4 separate regions of the Homo sapiens genome follow, and all the other regions are linked to region 1. The links are contacts of gene promoters, found by promoter capture Hi-C in human tissues and cell types (Jung and others, 2019). All regions are on one chromosome and are shown on one strand. The core of a region is centred on a gene start or on the middle of the fragment in contact, and the rest is flanking DNA. Distances in the headings are between cores, read along the strand shown.

Region 1 (3,543 bases), core at 322-2,821:
GGGACAAATGGCATCTCCCAGCCTTGGTTTGCTCATCTGTGAGACAGGGAGGCTAAATGTGGCTTTTAGAAGATGCAGTGAGGGGCCGGGCATAGTAGCTCACGTCTGTCATCCCAGCACTTTGGGAGGCCGAGGCGGGTGGATCACCTGAGGTCAGGAGTTCGAGACCAGCCTGGCCAACATGGTGAAACTCTATCTCCCCTAAAAATACAAAAATTAGCCAGGCATGGTCATGGGCGCCTGTAATCCCAGCTACTTGGGAGACTGAGACAGGAGAATCGCCTGAACCCGGGAGGTGGAAGTTGCAGTGAGCCAAGATTGCACCACTGCACTCCAGAATGGGTGACGAGAGCAAAACTCCATTTCAAAAAAAAAAAAAAAAAAAAAAGACAAAAAAAAAGGTAAAAAACTTTCCATGAGCACTCGCAGTGCACTTGGTGTGTGCGCTGCTGTGTGCTAGGCGGAAGGCACATTGGGGAACAAGCCCATTAGACAAACTGAGAGGCTCCAAGCTGCTCGATGGAGGGACAGAGAGAAAGGCTGTCCAAGCTGGGCACAGCGAAGATCAAAGGCCTGGGACTGGAGGGACTTGGCCTGTTTGAGGAAGGCTGAGGGGGTGGAGCCCGGGAAAGAGTGAGTGAGGACAGGCCAGGGGGAAGGAGGTGGTGCGGCAGACCAAACAGTGCAGGCAGCCGGGCGGTGGCTCACACCTGTCATCCCAGCACTTTGGGAGGCCGAGGTGGGTGGATCACCCGAGGTCAGGGGTTTGAGACCAGCCTGGCCAACATGCTGAAAATCCGTCTCTAATAAAAATACAAAAATTAGCCGGGCGTGGTGGCGGGTGCCTGTAATCCCAGCTACTTGGGAGGCTGAGGCAGGAGAATCGCTTGAACCCAGGAGGCGGAGGTTGCAGTGAGCCAAGATGGCACCGCTGTACTCCAGCCTGGGCAACAGAGCAAGACTCCATCTCAAAAAAAAAAAGAAAGAAAGAAAGAAAGAAAGAACGAAAGAAAGAGAAATTCCAGGGTAGGTGGGGTGCAGACGGGACCCTCACGGCAATAGGGAATCACGGCAGGTTCTGGAGCCCAGTGGCTAAGCTTCCTCTGAGGGGCTTCCTCTGAGGGCCACATAAGGAATGGGCCTGGGCTGGGCTGTGGCAGATGTCCAGGTGCAGATGGTGGCGGCCTGGACTAGGGGTGGGGGACGGGGGGCAGAGGAGGCGATGGTAGCTTCCAGAAGGTTCCACACGGAACAACCTGCTGCACTTGGGGTGCCCCTGCGTTTATTGCACGGCACGGCCGTCTCCGCAGGCTCACCCAGGCCGTGGGGACAGGAGGTCCTCGGACACGAAGCGCCCGGGATGCGCACGGAGGGGTTCTGCACCCGCGCTCCCAGTGTCCCCGCACCTGCGCCCACGTGGCCTCTCACACCTGCGGCCCCAGCCGCCGCGCACGCGGCCCAGCGCAGCCCCCGCGCGCCCCCGCCAGGCGCGCCGAGGAGACCGGCGGGCGGTTGCGCGCGGCGGCGGCGCGCACGGCGGAGCCCGGGAGGCGGCGGCGGCGGCGGCGGCGGCGGCGGCGGCTGCTCGTGTCGGCTCCGGGCGGCCCCCGCGCCGCAGCCCGCGCCGTGTCCGCGGCGGAGCCGCCCAGGTGAGTGGCCGTGCCGGGGCCCGGCGTGGGGCGCGCCCGCAGACCTGGGGACCCCTCACCTGCACCCTGCGACCCTGCCGCCCAAAGCCCCCAACCCGCGACCCCATCCTCAGCCGGGGGAAATTGCCCCGCGCACCCCTCCCGGGCTCATCGCTCCTTGCCAGGCCCCCGACGCTCCCCCTGGAAACTTTGGGGGCGAACTCCCCACCCTGGGGCCCCCCGCCCCTCCTCTGGGGCGCCAAGGAGCGGGGAATCGGGTGGGCATCTCCCCGGGGCACTGGGGACGCTGGGAGGATGCGCTCCTCTCCAGGAGGAGATGAAGGGGGCACTGGTTGGGTCTGGGGTGTGGGGAACGTCCGAATAGAGCCTGCAGCCCGCGCCTTCCTGCCCTGTCTCCCCCGAGCCGGGTCTGGTCCAGCCTGGGGGTGCGGAGCTGGAAGACGCAAAGGGTATCTGGGGTCCACACCGGAGCCTGCTCCATCGCTGGAGCTGACGGCCCGGCCTGGCGGGGAGGGACCTGGGGGCATAGGGCTGAGTCCCCCTGCTCTGGGGGCGTCTGAATAGCACCAGAAATGGTGGGCCTGGGCACCCTGAGTGGGTGCCGCCACCTCCCGGGCCTCTGGGGCCTGGCCAGGGGAGGCCCTGAGTCCCATTCAACAAGTTTAGGGGAGCAGCACCTCGTGCCTTGGTCCGGGCACAAGAAAAGCCCCGGGTCCTTACGCTGGAGACCACCATGTAACTGGGTTTCTCAACGTGTGCTTGGGGCGCTAACGGTGCCGGTGTCCCGGCCCCCCCAGTTCTGAGGAGTCAGAACTTCTGAGGCGATGTGCCCCAGAAGCTGCATTTTAGCAAGCGGTCCCTGGCTAAACCATGGACGCAGCGAGGCTGCAGACACCCTTGCTCCGGCGGGGGTGGGGAGCGGGCGTCTGCTGTGCAGTGGTATTTGCAGAGGGACGATCTGGGGCTTGGCTGGGGGGAGCCTTCAGGGACAACAGAGCTGTGAGAACCAGAGCAACCCAGGAGGGCTCCCTGGAAGTGGCCTGGAGAGGATGCAGAAGGTGTGAGGTGTGAGTGGTCAGGTGGAGGACGCAGGCTGGAAACAGGTTCAGGGAGGGTGGTGCTGGCTTTATCAGGAGGCTGGTGTGGGGTGGGCTGCCGCGGCATGGCCTTACCCTGGCTGTTCTCTGAGCCGAAGCAGCAGCCATCGTCGGAGACAGGATCTGAGTGGGAAGAACCCACGGGCTTCCCCTGTAGACCCAGCTCCTGTCCCCATCTCGATGATGTGGGGTGGCAGGAAGGGGGCAGCCGGGCGGTGGGATGGGGGCTTAGGAGGGTTCAACTCAGCCTTCCCTGCCCTGCCTGTCTGGTCTTCACCGGTGACTTCCGGCAAATGACGTCCCCTCTCTCAGATCCACCCCACATGGGATTAAATGAGATGCTGCCCACCTCGGCTGCAGTGTGGTGCCACCATAAAACAGATGCTCAGGTCACGATGGTTACGGCAGCAGCCCTGCCTGGCCTCCCTCAGCCTCAGCCGTCCACCCCCAGGGTAAGCCGGGACCTGAAGGTGCCTTGCTGAGTGGGAATAGAAGGCAGTTTGATGTCTCTTCCCACAGCACTGTCATTCCCCGGCGCCCCCTGAGTCACTACCTCGTCACCAGGTAGAGCCTCTTGAAGAACTCTGCGAGCAAAGTTGGCCCCGGGTGGGCCCCATCAAGCCGCCCACCACCACATGTCAATCTCGGGCCTCCAAAGAGCGCCCTTCACCCTCTAGTGGGGAGCTGGGATTTTGTGGGTAGGAGCTGGCGTCAGATCCAGGTTCAAATGCTGACTGTCTGCAGCTAAGTTGTGCAGTGAGCTGGGGCCCACTCTGACCCTCAGTCTCCTTCTCTCC
Region 2 (3,543 bases), core at 292-2,791, 310 kb before region 1:
GCAGTGCACCAGGATGGCCCCATCCCAGAGAATGATCCAGCCCTGAACGTCAGAGACTTTGGGTTAACGGAATGTAATTAGGCTGAAATAAGCTAAAGTTTTTCCGATAGTCACGTGCTGGGCAGCACACTGGTGGAAGGCTGGTGCAAAGCTTTCATGCCAGAACCTTCTGATTCCAAGACACTTTCATTCACAGTCACCTGCATGACCAGGGAGGCGGAGCTGCACTTATCCCGTGACCCCAGATGAGGAAACAGTCAGAGGAAGAGGCGGGCAGAACCCGGGCCCCACTGCTCTTGGCAGCTCTTGGAAACATCCTCCCCTAGGGCCCTGGTCACCAGCCTTGCCCAAGAACCCACCAGCTATATTTGTCTGGTTTTTTTTTTTGAGATGGGGTTTTGCTCAGGCTGGAGTGCGATGGCGTGATCTCGGCTCACTGCAACCTGCAACCTCTGCCTCCCGGGTTCAAGCAATTCTGCCTCAGCCTCCTGAGTAGCTGGGATTACAGGCACCCGCCACCATGCCCGGCTAATTTTGTATTTTTAGGAGAGACGGGGTTTCTCCCTGTTGGTCAGGCTGGTCTCAAACTCCTGACCTGAGGTGATCCGCTCGCTTTGGCCTCCCAAAGTGCTGGGATTATAGGCATGAGCCACCACACCCAGCCTTTCTTTGTTTGTTTTTTAATAGAGATGGAGTCTCTAGCCTGGCTAACATGACAAAACCTCATCTCTACTAAAAATACAAAAATTAGCTGGGCACGGTGGCACACGCCTGTAATCCCAGCTACTCGGGAGGCTGAGGCAGGAGAATCGCTGGAACACGGGAGGCAGAGGTTGCAATGAGTCGAGATCGTGCCATTGCACTCCAGCCTGGGCAGCAGAGCGAGACTCCGGCTCAAAATAATAATAATAAATTAGAGATGGGGTCTCACTATTTTGCCCAGGCTGGTTTTGAACTCCTGAGCTCAAGGGATCCTCTCGCCTCAGCCTCCCAAAGCACTGGGATCACAGGTGTGAGGTGCCATGCCTGGCCCACACCAGCTGTGTTTAATCAATGCTGGGCAGCCCTGCAGCTTGGTGACATCAGTGGGCCACTGGCTACTGGGTGTTTTTTCCATCCTGCCCTGTTCCCTGCTGGCACCAGGGGAAAAAGGCCCATACAGGAGTCTGTTCCAGGTCACCAGATCCTGGGGTGGCCCGTAAGGATTTGAAGGGGACAGGAGGCGCCCCTTTGCCGAGGCCCTTCACTGTGTCAGGCACATTGCTGGCTGCCGTGGGTGCACAATCTTAGGGAACCCTCCTGCCTCCTCCGCCTTGCTGCTTCCTTGCAAAGAAAATTTCCCACTGCAGAGGGCAGCTTAATTGCTCAGCAGTGGCTCTTCAGAATCTCACAGATGGGCCAGGCGTGGTGGCTCATGCCTGTAATCCCAGCACTTTGGGAGGCCGAGGCGGGCAGATCATGAGGTCAGGACATCGAGACCATCCTGGCTAACATGGTGAAACCCCATGTCTACTAAAAATACAAAAAAATTAGCCAGGCGTGGTGGTGGGTGCCTGTAGTTCCAGCTACTCTGGAGGCTGAGGCAGGAGGATCACTTGAGCCCAGGAGGCTGAGGTTGCAGTGAGCTGTGACTGCACCACTGCACTCCAGCCTGGGCAACAGAGCAAGACCCTATCTCAAAAAAAAAAAAAAAAAAAAAAAAAACCGGAAAAGACAAAGAAAATAGGATGAGGTGGCACCAAGAGGACAGAGTCTGTGCCACGTGGTGTCCAGGAAGGTCTCTAAGGAGAGGACATCCTTGCCGACCCCTGCAGGATGGGGAGGAGCATTGAAGGCAGGAGGAAGGACATTCTGGAGGGCTCCCTGGAGGCGGAGGTCTGGGGGAGCCTGAATGGTGGGAACCTGGGAGGTGGAGTTTGCAGTGAGCCGAGATCGCGCCACTGCACTCCAGCCTGGGCGACAGAGCGAGACTCCGTCTCAAAAAAAAAAAAAAGAGTGTCACAGATGGCACCTTCAGACCAGACAGTGGCCGCCCAGTACCCCGAAAGTGGCCTAGAAAGCGGGGCTATTCCACACACCTTGCCCAGCCCAGCACTGAAGCCAGGGAAGGAGGGCTTGGGCAGGAGCCGCGGCACAAATCACAGCTGCAAGTTCTGGCTCTGCCAATGGCTACGGGGTGACCTTCAACAATCAGCTGCCTGCCTCCTGCCTCAGTGCCTTGTTTAAAAGCTGAGGAACGCCTTGGCATTGAGAATTGATGTGTGATGCAAGATGGGGCAGCCGCCTTGGAAACCAGTCTGGTGGTTCCTCAAAAGGCTGAACGCGGAGTCGCCACATGACCCAGCAATTCCGCTCCTAGTTATCTGCCCAGAGGAATTGGAAGCAGGTGTTCAAATAGAACCTTGCCACAAATGTTCATACAGTACGATTCACAATGGCTAAAAGGTGGAAATGACCCAAGTGTCCGTCCGTGGGTAAATAGATAAACAGCGTGGCCCTCCACACACTGGAACGAGACTCAGCCGTGAACGAGACTCTGACCCAGGCCACGTGCAGCCTGGATGCCCCTTGAGGATGTCACACTCAGTGAGAGATGCCAGATCCAAAAGGCCACACAGTGTGTCATCCTATTTCTATGAAATGTCCAGGACAGGCCAGTCTAGAGAGGCAGGAAGGGGATGTGTGGGTGCCAGGGGCTGGGGAGGGGGATGGGAAGTGACAGCTGATAGGGATGGGGTGTCTTTTTGGGGGGCTGAGAATGTTCTAGAGCTAGCTAGAGATGATGGCTGCACGAATGCCACTGGATGTCTGGAAAGGGAGCTTTTTTGTTGTGTGCATTTCACCACACATGTGCCTGAGACCCGACGTGCAGGGCCCCCCTGCGGGTACACAGAGGGCAGGGAGAGGGTGCTAGGGAAAGTCGCCGCACCTGCTTTCTGGCGACCATGCTCAGGCTGTAGCTGGGGGAACTCTCTTCCCGCCCTCCTGGGACCTCTCGAGCCTCTTGAGTCTGCTCCCAGTGCCGTTCACCGGGTGGTGAGGATGTGGTCTCGCAACAGACGCCTGCAACGGACCCACCTGTGCGAGGCTGGCCCCCTTTACCCCGGGGGTAGGCGCGGGGCCCGAGTTCCCTGGGTGGATTCTGCATTGCACTTGCCGGCCTTTAGATGTCGCTGTGGCCGTGGCCTTCGCTGGCCTTAGGCTGCGAGCTTCTGTCTGATTCGCACCTTTCTCATTCAGGATCCACACACTGCTGCAGTCCGAGTTTCTTGGCATAGCCAGGGTCCCTTGATCTTCCCCCTCACCAATTAATTAAATCAGGATCTCTCCTGCTAGGTACTGTGGACATCTGGGGCTAGATCCTCTGGGGTCTGGCCATCCTGGGCACTGCAGGGTGCTGAGTGGCGTCCTGGCCTCCACCCACTCCATGCCGGGAGCACCTCCAGGCATGACAACCACAAATGTCCCCAGACATTGCCCAGTGTCCCCTGGGGGCAGGATCACCCCTGATTGAGACCCCCCGCCCAGGTTAGGGGAATCCAC
Region 3 (3,543 bases), core at 317-2,816, 290 kb before region 1:
GCTGCAAGCTCCGCCTCCCGGGTTCACGCCATTCTCCTGCCTCAGCCTCCCGAGTAGCTGGGATTACAGGCACCCGCCACCACGCCCGGCTAATTTTTTGTATTTTTACTAGAGACGGAGTTTTGCTATGTTGCCCAGGCTGGTCTCAAACTCCTGAGCTCAGGCAATCCACCCGCCTCGGCCTCCCAAAGTGCTGGGATTACAGGCATGAGCCACTGCACTCGGCCCTTAAATTTAATTTCCTTTCAGCCGGGCATGGTGGCTCACACCTATAATCCCAGCACTTTGGGAGGCTGAGGTGTGTGGATCAATCAACTGAGGTCAGGAGTTCAAGACCGGCCTGACCAACATGGCAAAACCCCGTCTCTACTAAAAATACAAAAATTAGCCGGACGTGGTGGCGGGCGCCTGTAATGCCAGCTACTTGGGAGGCTGAGGCAGGAGAATCGCTTGAACCCGGGAGGTGGAGGTTGCAGTGAGCCAAGATCACGCCACTGCACTCCAGCCTGGGCAACAGAGTGAGACTCCGTCTCAAAAAAAAAAAAATTTAATTTCTTTTGAGACAGGGTCTCGCTCTGTTGCCCAGGCTGGAGTGCAGTGGTGCCATCATGGTTCACTGCAACCTTGACCACCTGGGCTCAAGCGATCCTCCCACCTCATCCTTTCAAATAGCTGGGACTACAGGTACGTGCCACCATGCCCAGCTAATTTTTTTGTATTTTTTGTAGAGATGAGGTCTTGGTATGTTGCCCAGGCTGGTCTCAAACTCCTGTCCTGAAGCAATCAGCTCGCCTCAGCCTCCCAAAGGGCTGGGATTACAGACGTGAGCCACCACGCCGGGCCATTAAAGACATTTTTGAGATAATCATGGACAATGGGTCACAGGCTGGTTATTGGTAACAGGAAATTATTGTTGATAATCATGGAGCAAGTTGATAATAAGACAGTGTTAATTTGATTGGGTGGTTCTGTGTTGGGAAATCAGAAAGCTTCAGTGATTAGAGAACATTCTGAAGGTTCTACAGGCAAAGTCATATGATGTCTTGAATTTGTGTGAAATACCCGTGCAAAGCTGGAGAGAGAAGTGAGAACAGAAGAAGGGCAGAATGTTAATTCCCGTTGCAGGAGGTGACGACACTCAGAGAGACCTCGTCCTGGCCTGCGTGCTTCAGGCTGTGTTTGAAATTTTCCACTATATGTAATTTTTTAAATTTGCAGTTTCTTTCTTCCTCCTTCCTTCCTTCCTTCCTTCCTTCCTTCCTTCCTTCCTTCCCTCCTTCTTTCTTTCCTTCTTTCTTTCTTTCTTGAGGGAGTCTCACTCTGTCGCCTAGGCTGGAGTGCAGTGGTGTGATATCTCGGCTCACTGCAACCTCTACCTCCCAGGTTCAAGCGATTCTCCTGCCTCAGCCTCCCAAGTAGCTGGGACTACAGGTGCCCACCACCACACCCAGCTAAGTGTTTTGTATTTTTAGTAGAGATGGGGTTTCTCCATGTTGGCCAGGCTGGTCTCGAACTCCTGAGCTCAGGTGATCCGCCCGTCTTGGCCTCCCAAAGCGCTGGGATTACAGGCGTGAGCCACTGTGCCCGGCCTTGATTTGCAGTTTCTGTAAACAACTTGTATAATAGAAAAGCAGAGAAATAAATTTTCCTCCCCTTCAGAAGCACCTCATGTTTGTTTTAAAGTATAGTATTTAATCCAGATTTGAGAAGGTTTGGGGTGAATGAGGTAAGAAAGTTTTTTTTTTTTTTTGGCATCAAATATTTCGGCCTGCCTCTCAGCTTGCTTCAGAAAACTTAAAACATCACAATAGTAATCAAAACATATATAACATTGAAACAGAAGGAAATGGCATGGACCACAGAACTCCAAGGATTGTTTAAAAAAAAAAAAAAAGTGCTACCCCGGGAAAAGTATTTGCAATTTTTTTTTTTTTTTAGATGGAGTCTCACTCTGTTGCCCAGGCAGGAGTGCAGTGGCACAATCTCGGCTCACTGCAAGCTCCGTGTCCCAGGTTCAAGCGATTCTCCTGCCTCAGCACCCCTAGTAGCTGGGACTACAGGCAGCCGCCCCCATGCCCGGCTAATTTTTGTATTTTTAGTAGAGACGAGGTTTCGCCTTGTTGCCCGGGCTGGTCTCGAACTTCTGACCTCAGGTGATCCACCTACCTCAGCCTCCCAAAGTGCTGGGATTACAGGTGTGAGCCACCACGCCCAGTCCTACTCTTAATACTTTTGAAATCTTTAGAGCAGCTTGAAGGCTTGTAAATATATAGAACGAATATTTTAAAAAACAAAAATTGACTCAATACTATTTCTTTTCACTTTGAAAATATAAAGCACAAAATAAAGACAAACATTCCAAGTTTTTTTTTTAAAAAAGGAATTTTCCACTATACATTTTTAAGAGAGGCAGAGATTAAGAACAACATCAGGCCGTTGGTGACCAAGACCAGAAGCCTCTCCCCTCAATCTGGGTGGCCACAGGCCACTTCTCACCACCCGGTGCCCTGTCCTCTTTGAAGTTTTTAGTCTGTGCTGGATTTTCTTACTTTTTTGTGACCTCAGCTGTTGGTTAGAAAGAGTATGCATTTTCTTTTCTTTTTTTTTCCTCCCTCCCTCTCCTTCCTTCCTTCCTTCTTTCCTTCCTTCCTTTTCTTCTTTCTTTTTTTCCCTTCTCCTTTCCCCTCCCTCCGTCCCTCTCTCCCTCCCTCCCTTTCTTTCTTTCTTCCGTCCTTCCTTCCTTCCTTCCCTCCCTCTCCTTCCTTCCTTCTTTCCTTCCTTCCTTCGTTTTCTTCTTTCTTTTTTTCCTTCTCCTCTCCCCTGCCTCTCTCCCTCTCTCCCTCCCTCCCTCTCTCTCTCTCTCTTTCTTTCTTTCTTTCTCTCTTCCCTCCCTCCCTCTCCTTCCTTCCTTCCCCTCCCCCTCCCCTCCCCTCCCCTTCCTTCCCTCTCCTTGTTGCTCTGTCACCCAGGCTGGAGTGAAACGATGCAATCATAGCTCACTAGAGCCTCGACCTCCTGGGCTCAAGCAATCCTTCTGCCTCAACGTCCTGAGTAGCTGGGACCATGGGCACATACCAGCACACCTGGATGCTTTTTAAAAATTTTTTCTAGAGATAGGATCTTGCTATGTTTCCCAGGCTGGTCATGAACTCCTGGGCTCAAGCGATCTTCCTGCCTCAGTCTCCCAAAGTGCTGGGATTACAGGCATGAGCCACTGCACCTGGCCTTTGTTCATTTCTTTCATCCAGTCTTGCTTGGGTTTTAGAGGAGGAGAGATTTAAAGTGATGTTTTCTGCCACATTGCTAGAAATAAAAATGCTGTGATAGAAGGAGCAATTTTTTTTTAATGTAGCAACTCTACTTTTCAGCCTTTTGAAAAATGTTAAGAGTTGTTTTTGGTTGCCATTTTTTGTCAGTGTGATCAGTGAGCTTCATTCTTTTTAGTTAGCGCGTTCTTGTGTATGGATATGCCAGAGTGACTTGAAGAACACACTACTGATCTTTACAGTTTTTCTTACATCCAAATAATGTTGCAGCAGAAAC
Region 4 (3,543 bases), core at 1-2,500, 260 kb after region 1:
TGTTTGTGCGTGTATGTGTTCACACGCACACACACGCACCCACATGCACAATAAGGGGGGCTGGGGGACCTGGTTTTCTGTCCCCCCATTGCCAAGAGTCAGGGCAATGCCAGGTGCTGGGCTGGGTTCTGGCTGGGAATTCCCCACAGGCTTCCCCCCAATGCCCCGGGGGTGGCTGAGGCCAGGCCTCCCAGCCCCTGTGGCCTGAGAGCTGTGGCCTTGCAGGCAGGGGCCCTCCAGCTTCAGGTCAGTGGGGCTCCAGCCCCTCTTGAGCTCAGGGCCTGGTTGGGGGATGGTGGGATGGGCTGTGCGAAGCTTCTGGAAACCCCTGCAGAAGAGGAGACCACAGTCCACCCAGCAGGGGAACCCCCACTCCTTGTGTGCCCCAGGCCCGGGGCCTGGGGAGCACTTTGAACCAGGATGCTGTGGGATGGGGGACTGGCAGCTCAGGACAGGCTGATTCTATCTAAGCCTGGTTTGGGGCCCCAGCCAAAATGGGACTGTGTTTTACTTCCTGTCCTGGCGACCATCCACCCCTTGGGCTCTTTCCCAGTGGGTCTCAGGTCCCAGTTCTCCCTGAAATGCTATTCGAGGACAGAGGAAGGGTCCTTCACAGACCTCGGTCCCCACCCTCTACTCTGGTTCCTGCCAACCACAAAGCAAACTCGGGGAGCTCAGTGCTCCCCAGGCAGGGTGGCCCAGGGGAAGAAGAAAGTAGGTGGCGGTGGCTGGTCCCCCAGCACTAGAAGGGAGTGGCTGGGACTCCAAGCGTGCTGGTGGTGCACGAGGGGGACTGCTGGAGCCAGCACTGGAGAACTGCAAGAGGGAGCCATGGCAGGTTCTAGAGCGAGGGCATGAACCAAGGGAGTCGGGGTATACTAGGCCTGGGTTGACAGGCCAAGGGAGTTGCCCTGTGTGGGGCCAGGCGGTAGGACACGGCCCAGGGCCTCGCAGGTCCCACGGGCCCCGCGAGCCTCAGGCGGCAAAAACAGGCCAGCTCCGGGCGCGCCGCAGGGTCGCTGCCTAGGTTCCGCACCGAGACCCCCGTGCGCCGCACTGCGCAGGCGTGCGCTAGCCGTTTCGGACACGCCCCACCGCCGGAGCGCGCAGCCGCACTGGGTTCCCGGAGAGCGCCCTCTTCTGGCTCCGCCCACGTCGTGCGCAGGGGGTGAGGCCGGGCGGAGCCTGCGTCGGGGGCGGGGCCAGAGCAGGTCCGGGCCTATAAAGGTGGCGGCGGCGGCGACGCGCCCGGCTCCTCTCAGCGGCGGTGGCCCAGGTAGAGGGGTCCGCGCTGGCGGCGGCGGCGGCGCTGTTCCCCGCGCGGTCCGCGGAGCGGGGTCCGGGCTGCGCGACGTGGGGCGGCGGCGGCACTGCGGCCCCGGCCCAAGCCCGACCCCGGTGAGTGCGAACCCCAGGGCGGCCCCGAGGACACCGACCCGGTAGCGGGAAACGGGCCCCGCGGAGCCCTCGCCGCCCCCGCCCGGTCCGCGCTCCTGGCAGGCCGGGCTCCGCTCACCGCCCTCCCTTTGTCTGCTCCCGCCCGCAGGGTCCCCTCCTCGGCCGCCCCCCGCCCGGCCGCCCGCCCTCGGGCCTCCCCCCGGGCCCTCGGTCCCCTCCCCCGCTGGCGGGGCCCGGACAGAAGATGGTGCAGAAGAAACCAGCCGAACTTCAGGGTTTCCACCGTTCGTTCAAGGTGAGGCCCGGGGTCGGTTTGGGGGCGCTCCGGGCTGGACCACCGGAATGGCCGGCGTGGGGGGCGCGGGGCCCGCCCCTAAGATCGGCTCCCGGGGCTCGTGCCTGGCCCCCGCCCTACACCCGGGGCTGCCCGGGCCGGCCGTGCGCTGAAGCGGGGTCGGTGTGCGAGGATGGGGGTTCAGCAGGCCACAGTCCTCTCTCCAGCCATGGCCGCCGGGTCCTTCCTCCAGGACCCCCAAGTGAGGCTGGGAGCAGGAGCCCCCTCCGGGTCAGGGCACCAGGCTGTGTGTCCCCTGCAAGCCCCCGCCGGGTATGTTCTGGGGGGTCAGCAGGCTGCAGTCCTGTCCCAGTCGCTGCATGTGGCTTATGGGGGGTGTCCCCTGCAAGCTCCAGCTGGTTGTGCCCTGGTGGGGACGGGTCAGCGGGCCACAGTCCCATTCCCACCTCCATGTGGCTTCTGGGGACTTTCTTTCAGAATCCCCAGGCCGGGCTGGTCAGGTGCACCCACCCCCAGGGGGCCTGTGCCGTGGGGGAGGGGATGGGATGTCCCCTCAGCCCTGCACTTCGCAGACACCCCAGGCCCAAGTGCTGTTTCCTGTCGGAGCGGGAAGTTTCTGCGCAGCCCGGGTGGTGACTGCTGTTGAGTGCTGGTTTCAGATGAGCAAATCTTGGGGGGGAAGGGGAGGGCAGGTGCTGGGCAGGGGCCCCGCAGGACCTGGCCCAGGGGACGCAGTGATGTCAGCCGGCCCGCCCCACCCCTCAGGCCGGGGTTATGTAATCGCTTCACTGGGCTTCCTTGGGCAGGGACCTGTTGCCCGGTAGGGAAGGCAGGACTGGAGAGAGGAAGAGAGAGTGTGAGTGTATGTGTGTGTGTTTGTGTGTGTGTGTGTCTCTGTCTTGTGTGTACACACAACGCGGTGCTCCAGGGTGGGAGGAGCAAAGAGAGACTGGGAAGAATTCCCAGGTCTGTCCAGCCAGTGCCCCAGGGCAGCACTCCACCCCTGCCACCCCTGCCCAGTTTTCCCCTAGGGCAGCAGGCCTGGCACCATCAGAGTGTCAGGGGCTGGGCGGGAAAGAGGAGGACCTGACAGTGGTCTTCTCCCTCCTAGGGCCAGGCATGAGCTGATACAGAGTCAGTGCATGGGGCCAGCCAGGCAGCTAAAGCACACTTGAACTTTCTAGATGGTTCCAGCCACCTCCTGCCAAGGCCTGCTGACTCGAGTCCCACAGCCAGACCTAGAACAGTGGGACCAGGACCGCCCACACTGCCCAGGATTGTGGGCCGGCCTCTGTGCATGGCCAGGGCAGCCTGGCTGGGAGCTGGGAAGGTGGGCGTCTTGGTGGAGGAGGGCCTGGCAGGCAGTCCTGGCTGTGAGGTGTTCCTCCAGGTGGCCGGGACCGGTTGCTCTAGGAATCTCCCCCCACAGCCCCCACCATGCACGGCTGCTCCCTGGATTGGGGCCACCTCTCCTGAAATACTCTCCTTGCCTCCAGCAGGCAGCAGCCCAGCAGGGAGGCACGTCTGTGGGTGCCTTGGGTTTCTTTCCGTTCGCAGATGGGAAAGTGAGGCTCTGAGACTGCAGGCGCGTGTGCCTGGGGCTCCCCTGTACACGGGCGAGGAGGCCGCGGAGTCTCGTGGTGCCTGGCCCCTCCGCTGTGGTGGCTGCGGCCGTCCATCTGTAGCTTTGCTGAGTTGGAGGCTGTGGCTGGCACAGGGGAACGGTGGCCAGACAGGGCCAGGAGCTCACGCTGGGCTCTGTGGCCCCTTAGGTCATTTCACTCTCGTGAGCTCCCACGAGTTGGGGGCAGCTGCCTCCCGTCTCACCGCTGACAGACCCCAGGGTGAGG

The links. The method cuts DNA at HindIII sites, captures the fragments that hold promoters and counts their contacts. A contact is called where the count stands out against the background at its distance.
Region 2: a contact is called between a fragment that was not itself captured here and the fragment with the promoter of LINGO3 in region 1, in 8 of the 25 tissues and cell types used here (H1 embryonic stem cells, adrenal gland, dorsolateral prefrontal cortex and 5 more).
Region 3: a fragment that was not itself captured here is called in contact with the fragment with the promoter of LINGO3 in region 1 in 2 of the 25 tissues and cell types used here (dorsolateral prefrontal cortex and spleen).
Region 4: the fragment with the promoter of MKNK2 here is called in contact with the fragment with the promoter of LINGO3 in region 1 in 2 of the 25 tissues and cell types used here (lymphoblastoid cells and spleen).

What each region holds. Positions count from the first base shown.
Region 1 is chr19:2,306,182-2,309,724 of GRCh38, reverse strand. It overlaps LINGO3 (leucine rich repeat and Ig domain containing 3), which reads left to right and starts at 1,571. Exons shown (of 2, transcript NM_001101391.3): 1 at 1,571-1,649. The HindIII fragment of the contact is 18,961 bases long and covers 1-3,543 here.
Region 2 is chr19:2,613,616-2,617,158 of GRCh38, reverse strand. All of the region lies in intron 2 of GNG7 (G protein subunit gamma 7), which reads left to right. Among named protein-coding and RNA genes, the nearest start is that of MIR7850, 15 kb to the left of the region's middle. The HindIII fragment of the contact is 8,165 bases long and covers 1-3,543 here.
Region 3 is chr19:2,592,136-2,595,678 of GRCh38, reverse strand. The region is part of intron 2 of GNG7 (G protein subunit gamma 7); the gene reads left to right. It also overlaps the pseudogene RN7SL121P. Among named protein-coding and RNA genes, the nearest start is that of MIR7850, 37 kb to the left of the region's middle. RefSeq lists an enhancer at 2,721-3,222. The HindIII fragment of the contact is 5,318 bases long and covers 1-3,543 here.
Region 4 is chr19:2,048,951-2,052,493 of GRCh38, reverse strand. It overlaps MKNK2 (MAPK interacting serine/threonine kinase 2), which reads left to right and starts at 1,250. Exons shown (of 14, transcript NM_199054.3): 1 at 1,250-1,398; 2 at 1,547-1,693. The coding sequence starts at 1,643. RefSeq lists silencers at 1,076-1,615, 2,346-2,535 and enhancers at 2,106-2,165, 2,342-2,998. The HindIII fragment of the contact is 30,775 bases long and covers 1-3,543 here.